Linked DNA regions of Homo sapiens: region 2 is linked to region 1. The links are contacts of gene promoters, found by promoter capture Hi-C in blood cells and fetal thymus (Javierre and others, 2016). All regions are on one chromosome and are shown on one strand. The core of a region is centred on a gene start or on the middle of the fragment in contact, and the rest is flanking DNA. Distances in the headings are between cores, read along the strand shown. Region 1 holds the start of SUSD6 (sushi domain containing 6). Region 2 has its middle 17 kb from the start of PCNX1.

Region 1 (7,264 bases), core at 823-3,322:
GTCTGGGAGAGGATTTTTTTTTTTTGAGACAGTCTCACTCTGTCACCCAGGCTGGAATGCAATGGCACGATCTCGGCTCACTGCAACCTCTGCTTCCTGAGTTCAAGCAATTCTCCTGCCTCAGGCTCCTGAATAGCTAGGATTACAGGCATGTGCCACCACGCCTGGCTAATTTTTGTATTTTTAGTAGAGAAGGGGTTTCGCCATGTTGTCCAGGCTGGTCTCAAACTCCTGACTTCGTGATCTGCCTGCCTTAGCCTCCCAAAGTGCTGGGATTACAGGCGTGAGCTACCGCGCCCGACTGAGGATTTTTGGGTAGTGATGGACAGATCTGCATAGGGTCTCACAAGGGATTTTATAAGGTGGCAGTTCTTGTATGAAGTTACTGAGCCTCTTAATGGCCAAACTGACTTCAGTGCACAGCCAGGGGCTCAGTTACTTTGGCAGTTGATCTGACCTGAACCATCCATGCCTGCTTTCTTCCCTTTCCTTTCTTTCTTTTTCTCCTTCCTCCATTCATCTTCTCCAATTCTTCCTCCATCCCTTTCCCTTGCTTCCTTCCCCCTTGTCCCCTCCCTGAGCCTTGGGTCTGCCTGGCATGTTCCTGCTGCCCACACTGATTTGGTTGTGCTCTGAGGCAGACCCAGGTAGTTCTGAATTGTGCTTTTCAATCTTCTAGTGGTCTGGGCAGTGTGGCCCCAAATGAGCAGGAAGGGAGGGGTGCCCATCTTCTCTAATGAGTCTGGACCCAAGAAGGCAAGGAAGAAAGAAGGCAGAACAAGGATAGACTTATGAAAAAGGCATTATAGCAACGAGCCACAGGTTGCTGTGGGGCCCAGAAGGGAAGGGTTCTTTTGGGGATGGGTCTGTGTGCATGGGGAGGAGCATCCTGTTTATTTGGTTCAAGCTACTTCACAAGGACATGCCCTGTTAATTCACAGTGCTTTTCCCGAAAGCCTACTAGAACTAGGCCTGGTGAGAGGCCCTGAGAAGGTGTATCCTTTTGTCCAAGAGCATCTGGGAGAAGAGGCCTGCCTGACCCAAGCTGCAGCAAAGACACAAGTCTGTAGGTCCAGATGTGGACTCTACCACTGATTTACAAGTAGGAGTTCCTTAACACTTATGGAGGACCTCTGAGACCGACACGGTGCAAGGCCCTGGGGTACAAAGATAAAAAGCCAGAGTCCTCCCCATCAAGGCGCCACGGGCCCTGTAAACACATAAACCGAGGACACACTGCATGAGAGATCACCAATAAACGATGTAGCCATACAGTGCACAAACTGCTCACTCAGTATGTGCTAGAAAATAGCCCCAGAAGGCAAGGCTCAAGAGGGGAAATACAGTTAGGAATGTGGCAGGCTTCTAGCCCGGGCTCTGCCAGTCCTGGCTCTGAACTGCGGTTTTCTCAACCTTGAGATCCCTTGTGTGCTTTTAGTATGCTGAAGGATCACTCACTTCAGAATGCTAGTGAAAATACAGATTCCCAAGTCCGACCCCACTGAATCACAATGGCTGGAGGTCATTCGGGGCCCCGAATCTGCATTTTCACCCCCACCCACCCCCCGGGCAGCTTTAATGTTGGCAGGCTAGGAACCACAGTTCGGATTACTGCTTAACAGGGAGATAATAACCTGCTTCAGACGAGCTAGGTCAGACGAGCAATTCAAGAGCTAACAAGGCAACATGCGCCAAAAGCCTTGTAAACCTCAGGGCAGTACAATTCTTTGCAAATAATAGTAATTCAATCATGCAAATAATAATAATAGTAAACGAACTGGAGAGCGCACTGGAAACGCCGCATAGTCCAGCTGAGTCGGTGCCACCGCCCCATCCACTCCAGCGCAGAGGGACTGTCTCTTTAAGGACCCCCCACCTCCCCAACCGCGTCGCTTCTCCCTTGGGTACCTGGCCCGGCCGGCGGCGCGTGCGTGCAGGGCCTCCCGGCGGGGCGGTCGCGGCGGCGCGACGCCGGCGCCGTTGCGTGCGCGCCTGGCCCTGCCCCTTTCCCGCCCCTTCCCCGCCCCCTCCCCTCCGCGGGGCCTCCCCCGCCCGCGCGGTACAGCTGGGTCAGTGACGCGGGCGCTGCAGCCGTCGCTACCGCCGCGTTCTATTCTCCGAAGCCGGCGACCGCCCCACCTCCTCCCTCCCTCCCGCCCGCTTCCTCTGCCCACAGCGCCGGCCAGAGCGAGCTAGACAAGGGCACGCGGGGCCTCGCCTAGACCCGAGAAGACTGCGGGCGCGCGCAAGCGGCGGCGTGGAAGCTGTGAGCGCCCCCATCCCGGAGGTCTCCGCCGGCTCCCGGGTGAGTTGTCACCGCGGCCCGGGGGCGGCGGGGCCGGCATTGTGCCATCGACGCGCTCGGCCGGCTGTCAGGGGCGCGGGACCAGCGCGCACCGCCCAGGAGTGACGCTGGCCGGAGCCCGGGCCGGCTTCGGCGGCTCCCCGCGCTTCTCTGCGCCGGCCCGCTGTCACCCGGCCGCGAGCCGCGCCGCTGGGAGCCCCGCGCTGGCGTGGCGCGGCCAGCCGGCCAGCAGTGGGGGCTGCGCGGCCGGGGGGACCGGCGGCTGGTTTGCGGCCGGGAACTTGGTGACCCGCGGTCCGGGGCGCGCCGTCCCGCGTCGCTGCCCGGGCAGCACCGGAAGAGCCAGACGCCGTGCCGATGGGTGCAGAGGAGGTAGGCAGAGGCCCTCTGTGCCACTGTCATTACTGCCCTCAGCCCAGCAAAGCTGCGGGGCTTGCGCTGGGGCAGGGCTGGCTTAGAGAAGGTGGATTTCCTGAGGAAATCTCAGAGCCCGCCTGTGCGCACCGCGGCATTCGGGAGCCCCCGCGCCTCGGCTGCTCTTTAATCTCAAAAACTTCTCTTATTAACCAGGCTAAACTCCCCGAAACCAGCTATTTTCTTTCAAAAAGTAGGCACGTACATACAGACTTTCCTTTTTTCGCTTGGTTTTGAGACCCCAGCTATGAGTGTGGATCTGACTCTCCCTCATGGGAGTCGTGGCTGGGGAGCTGCTGAAGTGGAGAAAAGTTACCCTGGACGAATTTAGGAGCAGGAGGGGGAGGTGGTTATGGGGACAGCAAGACCCAGGAGCAAAGAGGCGTCAAAATAAAGTCTTGGGCTGGTTAAAGGGAAGTTGGCGTCTGGGCAAGGAGGCCTAAAGCTGTTGTTCCCACAGAATTTTCTTTCAGTGGCAGGCGACATGCTGGGCTTTGTTGCTCTCGCTAACTGGGCTCCTGTGTGCTCTTCCAGAGGTGCAGTAAGATTACTCAGTTCAATTAGGCCTAGGGATTTACTCCCTTTTTTGATCTACAGAGATGGGAAGTATGTCTTTCCTTCACAGTAGTTAATTCATTTCTTGCTGTTTTCGTTCCTCTGGTGTAAAAACATACATAGGAGTTACGCACACACACCTTTTCTGTTTTGGGAATTCCACACCCAAACTGTCACCATCTAGTGGAGGCTAGTAGAGACATGTGCTTGGCACTGACTTCTGAGTTCTCTGGGTTTTGTGTTTTTAGCTAGAAGCATATTCAACCAGAAATTAAAATTTTCCTGGAGTTGGGGGAGGTATGTCTACATCTCAGGAAAGAAGGTATTTAAGCAGCAATAATATGGAAAGGTTCTTGAGGACTTACTGAGTACCAACCTTTGTGCTAAGGGCTTTACTTTTTTGAACTCATTTAATAACAGACTTTTGATGTAGATATTATTATCCCCATTCTTCTAGTTGAGACCCAAACCAAACAAGTTAAATAACTCGCCCATGTCACATAGGTATCTCATGGTGGAGCCCACAGTCTGAACTACTAGATTATACTGCTAGTTTCTGGTTTGTTTACCTTTTGATAAAATTGAACCTGGAGTCTTTCTAAAACCTTCTGAAAGCACTGCTGCTTCAGGCTGTTTCTCAGATCATGAGCATTCTAAACTCTTTCTCCTGGGTACACACTTACGGTATGTTTGCATAAGATTCATTTGTTCATTCTTTCATTCAGTACTCCCAAGTAGTTATGTGATACCGAATGTATGCCAGGCACTGTGCTAGGTATTGCAGGTACTGCATTGAATAAGTCAGAATCCAGCTCTCATGGACTCACAGCCTTTAAGTCCATTTGTTTTGGTTTATGTTGTTAGCTTTCATTGCTGGCCATTTGCTGCTGAAGGAACTTCTGCCCAGCGAGTTAAACAGAGGACAGTATTGGTATGAGTCCTGATAGATAGGACTTCCTGTCTGCAGAGTAATTTTTTGGATACTGTAGTAGAAATGGCATATGAAACAAATCCTCACTTACACCTAGATAGAGACAGGTGCCAGGGTGCTCAGTGTTTAAACCCTGAGAGCAAACCCACTGTCAAATGGGCAAGTTTGACTTCTTTCGCTGAAGCCTGCCTTCTGAAAGCCCAGAATTTGGTGAGATAGAAGAGAAAGAAGGGTAGAATGAGGTGTTACAGATACAGGCTGGCAGATAAAGAGACCTCAGCACTTTGTCTGTTTTCCTGGTCAGTCTCTGAGGTGTGGTGATTGAACTTGTGTTCTTTTTTATTTTTTATTTTTTTTGAGATGGAGTCTCGCTCTGTCACCCGGGCTGGAGTGCAGTGGCACGATCTCGGCTCACTGCAACCTTCACCTCCCAGGTTCAAACGATTCTCTGCCTCAGCCTCCTGAGCAGCTGGGACTACAGGTGCGTGTCATCACGCCTGGCTAATTTTTGTATTTTTAGTAGAGACTTGGTTTTACCATGTTGGCTAGGCTGGTCTCGAACGCCTGACCTCAGGTGATCTGCCCGTCTTGGCCTCCCAAAGTGTTGGGATTACGGGCGTGAGCCACCGTGCCCGGCCTGAACTTGTGTTCTTATGTAATGTTGCATCTCTCAGTAGGGGATGTCCTCCTTTGCTCTTTTGGTGGGGCAGCAATTCCTGCAGCAGCCTTCCCTCTACATGCACACACACACCCCTTCCAAAAGGTAATAATTCACCTGGTTTCTTTAAAGTTAGAACTTCTTTCAAGTTTATTGCTACTAAGCATTGTTTCACTCCCTCCACACTTGTCCATTTCCCACATAAAAACTTGGCTTTTGCTTCAAATATTTTCTTCTGCCCTTTTTTCATATCCTTAGCTCTTCTGACAACCAAGTTACTACTGGTATCATTTGTAGGCTGGGAGAAATACAGCATCTTTAAAAAAAAATAGTGAGGTACATACTCTTCCTCATTTCAGTACCAAACAAGTGAACTGTGGAGAATGAAGCAGAACCACTTGCCAGCAGAGAGGGAAGGCCAGAGGGCACACGTGGTTGTCTTTCCCCTCTAGTTCCCCATTTATTAAGAGACAATTCACACTTGCAGGCCCGAATGTCAGCAGATCCATTGGGCCCAGGTTGTGTAATTGCCATACATGAAGTGAGTTATTAAGCTCCTGAAATGACATGCTATCTCCTAGTTGAAGCTGACAAGCAGGATTTATTTTCCCTCTTCTTTCTGTCTGGACACTATGGAAGTCTTGTTAGAGGGTGTTCGCTCAAGCAGTGGGAGAAAGATCAGAAGGAGCCAATAGAGGAGGGAGCCCCATGTCTTGTCTTCTTTTCAACTTTGAGAGCAAACATTGCTTTGTTGCAGACTTGAATGTTGAGGATTAGGACATTTGGTTAAATGTAAGCTTTGGGACAAATGCAAAACTAGGGGAAATAGAGACTCTTTCCCCAGGTTTCTCACGAGCTCCATAGTACTCAGGAACCTTTGGGTGGACTGTCCTTGCGCGTCAAGATCTGTTCACTCCACCCCTGGCTTGGATTCAAGGCAACAGCCATTGTGTGTCCCTTGGATGAGTGTAAGTTTGTGTTTCTGTGTAAGAACCTTTCATCTTAAAAAGTACAAGTTCTGGGGAAAGGTGCCTCTTACAAGGCTTAGGTTTTCGCAGCAGAGCCTGTTAGGCACCTGTGTTCTTCTTGGGCTGATGTGTCTGCGATGGTGTCCTTTTTCTTCCCTTTTTAGTTTTTTTTGGCCTGGAAACCAGCAGGGTGCCTCCATTTGCTCTCTCATCCTCTGGTTCTTACTTGAGTGTGGAAGTCGCTCCACTGGTGGACCTTGCAGTGGCACTGAGCTGGGTCACTTCAGCCGTGAAAGGCCAACTGTACTACTGTCAAGGCTTGGGACAGTTAAGCGTCCGTGAAGGTACTGGATACAGCGACAGCAGGAAGTGCAGCAGTGAGAACTGAAACTAATTTCACAGACTGTGGTGTTGCCTGTGATGTAGTCTCCCTCCCTGGCTCTTCTATCTCAAAAAAGGAAAATAGCCACCCTTGAAACATCTGAAGGCTGCGTGCCAAGAATTCACACAGTACTCCTGAAACAGGATATTACTGAAGCATTTTTCTCAAACAGAAACAGATGTAGTTCCCTGTTACTGTCGCCAGTGTTAGTAGATCCTTAAAATTACCTGACAGCAGTGTGCCCCTAAATGTACTCCCCGCTCCTACACACATACACAAGTGTTTTATTTTATTTTATTTTTTGGCAAAGCCTCCTTCCTTGATTTGAGGGAAGTTAGCCTGGGATTCCTGATGACAGTAATAGATTCTCAGTGGGTTTGCAGACGGCAGAGGTGGTGACTGACAATTCTTTATTACTCAGAAGAGGATCTTCTCTGGTGAAAAATGATTCAGGATTCTGCAGTTGGAGATTGGATACAAAACCTCAGAGAAGGGACACAAATAGAGATCTTTCTCAGCCTCCCCTTTCTTGCTACCCTTTGTAGAGGAGAGGGAATGTCTCATATTTCTAAGTCCAACCTACTGCCAGCAGTGACTTGCCTTCACCCACAGAAATTTAAGATTAGAGTGTGGAATTGCCCTTTATGTAAACTGTCCTTGCTGAAATTTTCTTTGACTAGACTAGGCTTCAGCTTCTGACAAAGACAGTAAAATGAAACTGGCTTCTGGGAATGGCATAAGAGCCTGTTTATCCAATTCTTCCTTTAGATTGTTCTCAGTTGAGCTCAGCAAACTAAGTGGACGGAGGCTTGTAAAAGGTAACTGCAAAAAGGGTACAAGGTGATTTTGCTTAATTTGCATTTTAAATTATAGCAGTCTATGCAAACTGTTTGAAGGAAGACTGAGAGATGTTTTTTGGTGGGGAGGCACAAGATTACAGATAGCTTGGAAAATAAAAGGGAAAAAAAATCAGCATGATTCTACCACCCTAACATAATGTGTATTCTGTTTTTTCCATCTTCAGATGGTAGTACCTGTACATTCAGCTTTG
Region 2 (6,696 bases), core at 845-3,344, 1.3 Mb after region 1:
CAGGAAGTGTGGATTTTAGTTCTATGCTGCATACTAAATCATCATAAATTTATCCCCTTAAAACAACTCCCCATTCATTACTTTACAGGTTTTCCCCCAGAACTGGGAAGGGTGTGACTCCACTGATCTCCTCACAGGGCTAAATCAAGATGTCAGCTGGGCAGTGTTCTTATCTGGAGCTCAAGGGCCTTGTGGAAGCTCATTCTGGTTGTCACAGATTCAGTTTCTTGCGGTTGGGGGACTGAGGTCCCTGTTTCCTGGCTGGCTGTCAGCTGGGGGCCACTCTCAGTTCCTAGAAACTGCCGCATTTCTTACCACTTGGTCCTTTTATCTTCATAGTCAGCAATAGAGAATCTCCCCTTTGTTGAATTCTTCTCATGCTTCAAACCTCTTTGATTTTTTTCTGTCTTTGACCTCCAGACTCAGAGTTAAAGGGCTCGTGCTATTAGATCAAGCCCACCCAGACAATCTCCCTATCTTGGGACCTTAATTACATCTGCAAAATCCCTTCACAGCAGAATCTAGGTTGCTGTTTGATTGAGTAAGTGGGAGAAGGCTCACAGATCCCAGAGGCAGGAAACCTTAGGGGCTTAGAATTCTGCCTACCACAAAGTGTTTTGGTTTTCCTGGATGAGCTGCATTGTTGATTGATCAATGTTTTTAGAGTCATCGAAATTGAGACTATATAAGCTTTCTCATTTCTGCTTTCATTTCTACTCTCTTGCTGTAAGCCTCTCCTTTGGTATGAAATTACCAACAATGATTTCAAAATAAAAATGGACTGTCAACTTCCAGCAAATTGAGCTTAGCCCTTTTTCTCATTTATTGTATAAACTGAAAGTGTAAAACAGGAATTGATACATAGATCATTTGGGGTTTTTCACTGACTCATTAGCAATGTCCAGGAATAAGTCTCCAGATGCAGAGATGTTTATAGAAGGCAGTACTTCTTACTCAAGGAACTCTAAGTGCTCACGGATGATGTGAGCCAACAGACAGTGCCTGCACTTTGAAGAAGGAGGGTTTGTGATATCTTGACGTCAAAGATCTGACTGAAATCTTTGGAATCAAGCCCATCTTTTCTGATTTCTAGCCTATTTTCCTTCCAATGGCACTGTCCTAAGGTTGTACAGCTTAGAAAATGTTAACCCAGTATTGTTTTCTTTACTTGCATGTGAGAGAAGAGAAGTCAAAGTCAAAAGCAGGCAGCTGGAAACCTCCAGGGGAAGGGATTCCCAGGGGTCCTTTATATTCCTTTCTCCCCAAGCAAAGCAGAGAGAGAAGCAGCACACATACCCTGTGGATTCTGGGTTTGGAAAGCATAGTTGTGTTGTTCATCTGGGCTGCTATAACAAAATACTATACACTGAATGGCTCATAAACCACAGAAATGTATTTCTCACAGTTCTGGTGGCTTGGAAGTCCAAAATCAAGGTGCCAGCAGATTTTGTGTCTGGTGAGAGCCTGTTACCTGGTTCATAGATGGCTGTCTTCACATGGCAGAAGGGACAAAGGACCTCTCTGGGATCTCTTTTAAAAGGGTGCTAATCCCATACATGAGGGCTACATCTCATCGCCTCCCAAAAGTCTCACCTCCAAATACCATCATGAGGAGAATTAGGTTTCAACATATAAATCTGGGGAGGACAGACATTCAGTCTATTGCAGGGGCCAACAACAGCCCCTCATCAAGAGGTGGCGCTACGGAGGACAATATAGCTGGCCCTCCATATCCACAGGTTCTGTATATACAGACTCAACCAACTGAGGGTGAAAAACACTAAAAAAATAATAATAATACACAATAAAAATAAAAATAATACAGTGTAACACATATTTACATAGCATTTACATTGTATTAGATATTATAAGTAATCTAAAGATGATTTAAACTATGGGAGGATGTGCATAGGTTACATACAAGTACTACATCATTTTATATTAGGGACTTAAGCATCCCCCAGATTTTGGTATCCTGGAGTCCTGGAAGCAATTTCTCCCCACCCCCCACAACTAGGGATGAAGGATGACTGTACTAATGATTCTGTTTCTTTGCAATTCTCCTTAGTACCTCCAAAGCTCTAGCAAGATCATCACACAGGAAACAACATCATTTTCTTAGCCCACTCACAGCACAGAGAACAATGAAGTAATGGCTGTAGACAAATCCAAGTGTCTGTTGCAACCTCAGGGTGAGGAGAGAAAATTGGTAGTGGTGTTGCTTCCTTTAGAGCTTAAAAGGCACAGCTGAGGTGACTACCCTTCACTCCATTTTTGCTAGCATATAATAAGCTCTGCTTTGCATTTTTGCTCCCATGGCATCATTTTTGAAATATGAATCATAAAAGCAGTGCATTTCTGCTATGCCTGCTGAGACTTGCTTTATCACCCTCCTATTTCAGCGTTAATAAAATGATGCTGTCATTCCAGCTGGGAGGTATTTTGATTTTTCCAGACAGAGAGCTGGCTGATCACATTGTGAGTGTGTGTGTGTGTGCATACTTGTGTGCATGTGCCTCCCTTCTGGGGCTGAGAAGGAAATTGTCTTACCTTAATAATAGATAAATGTATTTTGATGGTAGCTGATTACTAAGTTGAGACTTTCTGTAAAATCTTCTAGCATCATGGTAATTTACTAACAGACAAAGAAAATCCCTCAATAAAGGCATCATTAGCAAAAATCCTGTGCCACTAGCTTCTAAATAGATGCGTAAAGGTAGGGTAGTAGAGACCAGGAGTAAAATAAGAAGGTTGGAGTAAATGACCTCTAAGGGCCACTTTTATTTAAAGAAAATTCCAAGCATAACATTGGAAGACCTAGAGATGATGCTAAATGCCTGAAAAGGGAGAATATAAATTTAGGAAGGTAGTAAAAATTTTCTCAATGATAAAGGAACTTATGACTATGGGTATTTGCACGTGTATGTGTCTGCTGTGTCTTTAATATTGAGGGGAATTCTTTTTCTTAAATCTGAGAATGATGGCTTAGTTGATGGCAAAATGGAAAGGATGCGGGGACCAGCCAGGAGCCCAGGAGCAAGGCAGGCGTTTCCAGAAGATCTTGGCAGAAAGAGGCAGACCAAAGAAGCAGACTGGCCAGCCAGTGCCAGGTAGGGTGTGAGATTAACTACAGGTGGGTGGAGCACAGCCCACGCACTACAGAGGTCTGGGCAGTCATGAAATCCAAAGGGGCTGCTCAGGATAGTGGGTAGCAGGGACTGCACCTTCGAGGGTGAGGTTCAGAGGCAGGATTTGGGTTTCTTTTTTTTTTTTAAAGGATTAGCAAGAGAAAGCGCACAATCTAGAACAAATGAGATATCAACAAGAGTCACTGAAAAGGGACCTACGGACAGGCTGTTAGGGACTTGATCTTCAGGAATAAGACTGGCTACTAGAATCAAAGAAAAGGTTTGTGTAGGTCCAGTAGCAAGGCTGATTTGATGCTATCATGCTGAGAAACTCATACTCTGCTTTTCATTTTTGCGTTTTTAGTACCTCTAAAGCTTTTTACATTCTCCCCAACTATAGAGATACTCTAGGGCCTAAGTTGATCCTAGCCGGGCTAATCACCAAATCACAGAATTTGGCAGATGATTTCAAGAAGTTTAAAATGAGTCCCGTCCTCAAAGTGTTTATAATCTATTTGAGAAGAAAAGGTCAGCACACATGAGACAGAAATATGTCTACTGTGTCCATTTACTGTGTTATGTACAAGTCATAGGTATTAAGAAAAATAAAAATTAGTAAGTGCTGGAGAGGTCAAGGAAGGCTTCACCGAAGAGGGATGATTTGAGGGTTTAAATTTTTTCTGAGACAGGGTTTCACTCCATCGCCCAAGCTGTAATGCAGTGGTGTAATCACGGTTCACTGCAGCCTTGACCTCTCAAGATCAGTTGATCCTCCCGCCTCAGCCTCCTGGGTAGCCCCAGCTGGGATTGCAGATGCACACCACCATGCCCAGTTCATTTTTTATATTTTTTGTAGAGACAGGGTTTTGCCATGTTGCCCAGGCTGGTCTCGAACTCCTGAGCCCAAGGGATCTGCCCACCTGAACCTCTCAAAATGTTGGGATTACAGGCATTAGCCGCTGCACCTGGCCTGGCTTGAAGTTTTTTAAGTGAAGAAAAGCAGAATTGGGGCCCTGGGGGTGGGAGATGTTCATGGGGGTGGAGAGAAGAGAGTCAGAAATATCCTGAGATATTTTTCTCATCATTTTTACCCCAACAGGAATAGTTGAGCCTCTCAGTTCTGCAGGGGAAGCTGGTAGTGGAGCCACTAGTGAGCACTTATAAAGTAGATGATAAAGAAAGGAAGTGGAGTTTGCTTGATAAGAGAAGAACATGATTAGAATGGTTGTGTTGGTAGCTCCTGGACTCTTTCTCTGCGGCTATTTCAGTCCCCTAGCTAATCTGGCCCTGACTTATAGTAGTGCCAACTTCAAGCCTTCAGGGCATTTTATACAGCTTCCTGTCTATGCTTCCCACCCTTATCACTCCCTCCCCTTGTTTTCCTTCCATTTTTTTAAATGACTATTATTGAATCAAATTTTCCTATTAATTAAAACCCTTGGGATCTTGGAACCTTAGTCAACTTTCCCCTCGTATATGACATAATGATGTACATTGTGTTTCAATGGCTCTGGACACCATCGCTGATAGAATAGGTCACCTGTTTAGCGTAGTCAGGATGAATGTTGCCATCAAGATGACTGCTCTATATTGAAGAGTCTGAGTCAACTCAGCATATCCAACTATCTTCGTGACTTTTTTTTTTAAAAGAGTTTTAATGTATTCCTTTAGTACTGGCAGTTGCTTTTCCCAGTCTGCTGCTGCTGAAGAAATTCCTAATGGTTAATGTCAGATCCCAGGATACTGGCCTATAATGCTGAGAAAGGAAATAGTGTCAGAGAATCTTGGTTTTTAGCTGCTGTTTTACTCTGCAGGAGCAGAGAGAAATAGGAGCAGGGGTAATTTCTTTCCTTTAGCAGCTGCTGAAGTAGACCTGATATTTGGGTTGGAAAAGTATATCAACTCACCTCAATTTAGAGAAATTATTTTTTAACCTTAAGAAATTAACGTATGTATTGCATCACTGAGGAGGCTCTTCTGTGGGCTTGTAGCAGGAAAAATCTAGACACTCTATGGGGCTATGCTACAGACATGGTGGCCCATGCAAGGAACTGGCAGCTGTGGGAGACAATGACAATGATTGACACTTGCCTGGCAATTTACAGCATACTGTTTCAAACCTGATTTAATTCTCTCAGTAAGCCTGAGATAAAGGGGTCATTTTATGCATTCCACAGATGAGGAAATAGACTTGCTTTCTTAAGCAACAGGTAGTGAGTTACAATCCAGAAATGAACACAGTCTCTCTGAATCCCAATCCTACACCCTTCCCAGTAAACAGGTTCTATTCCACTGTATGGCATTCAGTTGTGAGACGTTTCACACAAGAATTCGTCATTAACAAAAGAATTATATTTGATGGTGATAATTTAGAATCATAAGTCAAGAGTCTCTCATTTTCTTGTATTGAAGTGCATTTTTTTTTTTTTTTGAGATGGAGTCTTGCTCTGTTGCCCAGGCTGGAGTGCAGTGGCACGATCTCGGCTCACTGCAACCTCCACCTCCCAGGTTCAAGTGATACTTTTGCCTCAGCTCCCCCTCAGAACTGGTAGCTGGGATTACAGGCATGCACCACCAAGCCTGGCTGATTTTTGTATGTTCAGTAGAGATGGGGATTTGCCATGTTGGCCAGGCTGGTCTTGAACTCCTGATCTCAGGGGATCCACCTGCCTCGGCCTCCGAAAGTGCTTAGATTACAGGTGAGAGCCACCGCGCCTGGCCTGAAGTGCATTTTTTGAGCAGAAAGAATAGGTCAAATTGCAGCAAGCTATCTGGGGAATCACACACATCAGTTATATCTGTGCAGTAGCACTAAAAGACCATGGCTGGTGGAGATAATAATAGTTTTTGTGATTATAAGTTATTGCCTTGCTTTCCTCCCTGGAAAATACTGGGTTTCACCAAAGTTTGAATCTGAGTTTTCCTATGACAGTGTGCCTGCTTGTGTGAATATCATCCATTTTGAGTATCTCCAAAAGACATCAGTGGAGAATGTGGCTCATCGTGCAGCCTTCCTGATAGATCTGACTATGGTAGTGCACATACTACATTTAAGCCCTGCTGTGTATCAAAGCTGGGTACTCAACCCTAACACATACCCTTCACTTATAATGAAACTTCTAATGGACTCTTGCTTATAGGGAAAGCTTGTATAACCAACTCTCAATTTTTATGTGTATGTAAGGTCAAAACTGCAGTGTTCTGTTAATGGTGATACCACTACAATGTCTGTAGATATAGGCAATAGAAAACTGAAGCACTCTTATGACACAAATACAGTGTAAACATTCTTGAAAAACTGGGAATTTGCTGCAGCATCACTCCTAGCCACTCCCCAGAAATTTGGAGGTTGGACAACCTAGTGTGATAGTAGAAACACTTGAAATGTTTGGGAGTCATTTTTACACAAACTTGTGCTGTTGCTTTTTTTTAAGGTTAAAAAAGGCATGTTTTGATGCAAGAACACAGGATATGAGTTCGCACTAAATAAAGATCTACATCTACACAATAGGTTTCAATGACGGGGAGGAGAAGAGATTTTTATCTTCCATGAGATACTCAGCAGTAT

The links. The method cuts DNA at HindIII sites, captures the fragments that hold promoters and counts their contacts. A CHiCAGO score of 5 or more calls a contact.
Region 2: a contact is called between a fragment that was not itself captured here and the fragment with the promoter of SUSD6 in region 1, in 1 of 17 cell types (M1 macrophages). The highest score is 6.5, in M1 macrophages.

The regions. Positions count from the first base shown.
Region 1 is chr14:69,609,524-69,616,787 of GRCh38, forward strand. SUSD6 (sushi domain containing 6) reads left to right here and starts at 2,073. Exons shown (of 6, transcript NM_014734.4): 1 at 2,073-2,305. RefSeq lists a silencer at 1,822-2,591 and enhancers at 5,957-6,006, 6,277-6,486. The HindIII fragment of the contact is 10,737 bases long and covers 1-5,658 here.
Region 2 is chr14:70,886,622-70,893,317 of GRCh38, forward strand. No RefSeq gene overlaps it. Among named protein-coding and RNA genes, the nearest start is that of PCNX1, 17 kb to the right of the region's middle. RefSeq lists an enhancer at 683-992. The HindIII fragment of the contact is 2,813 bases long and covers 689-3,501 here.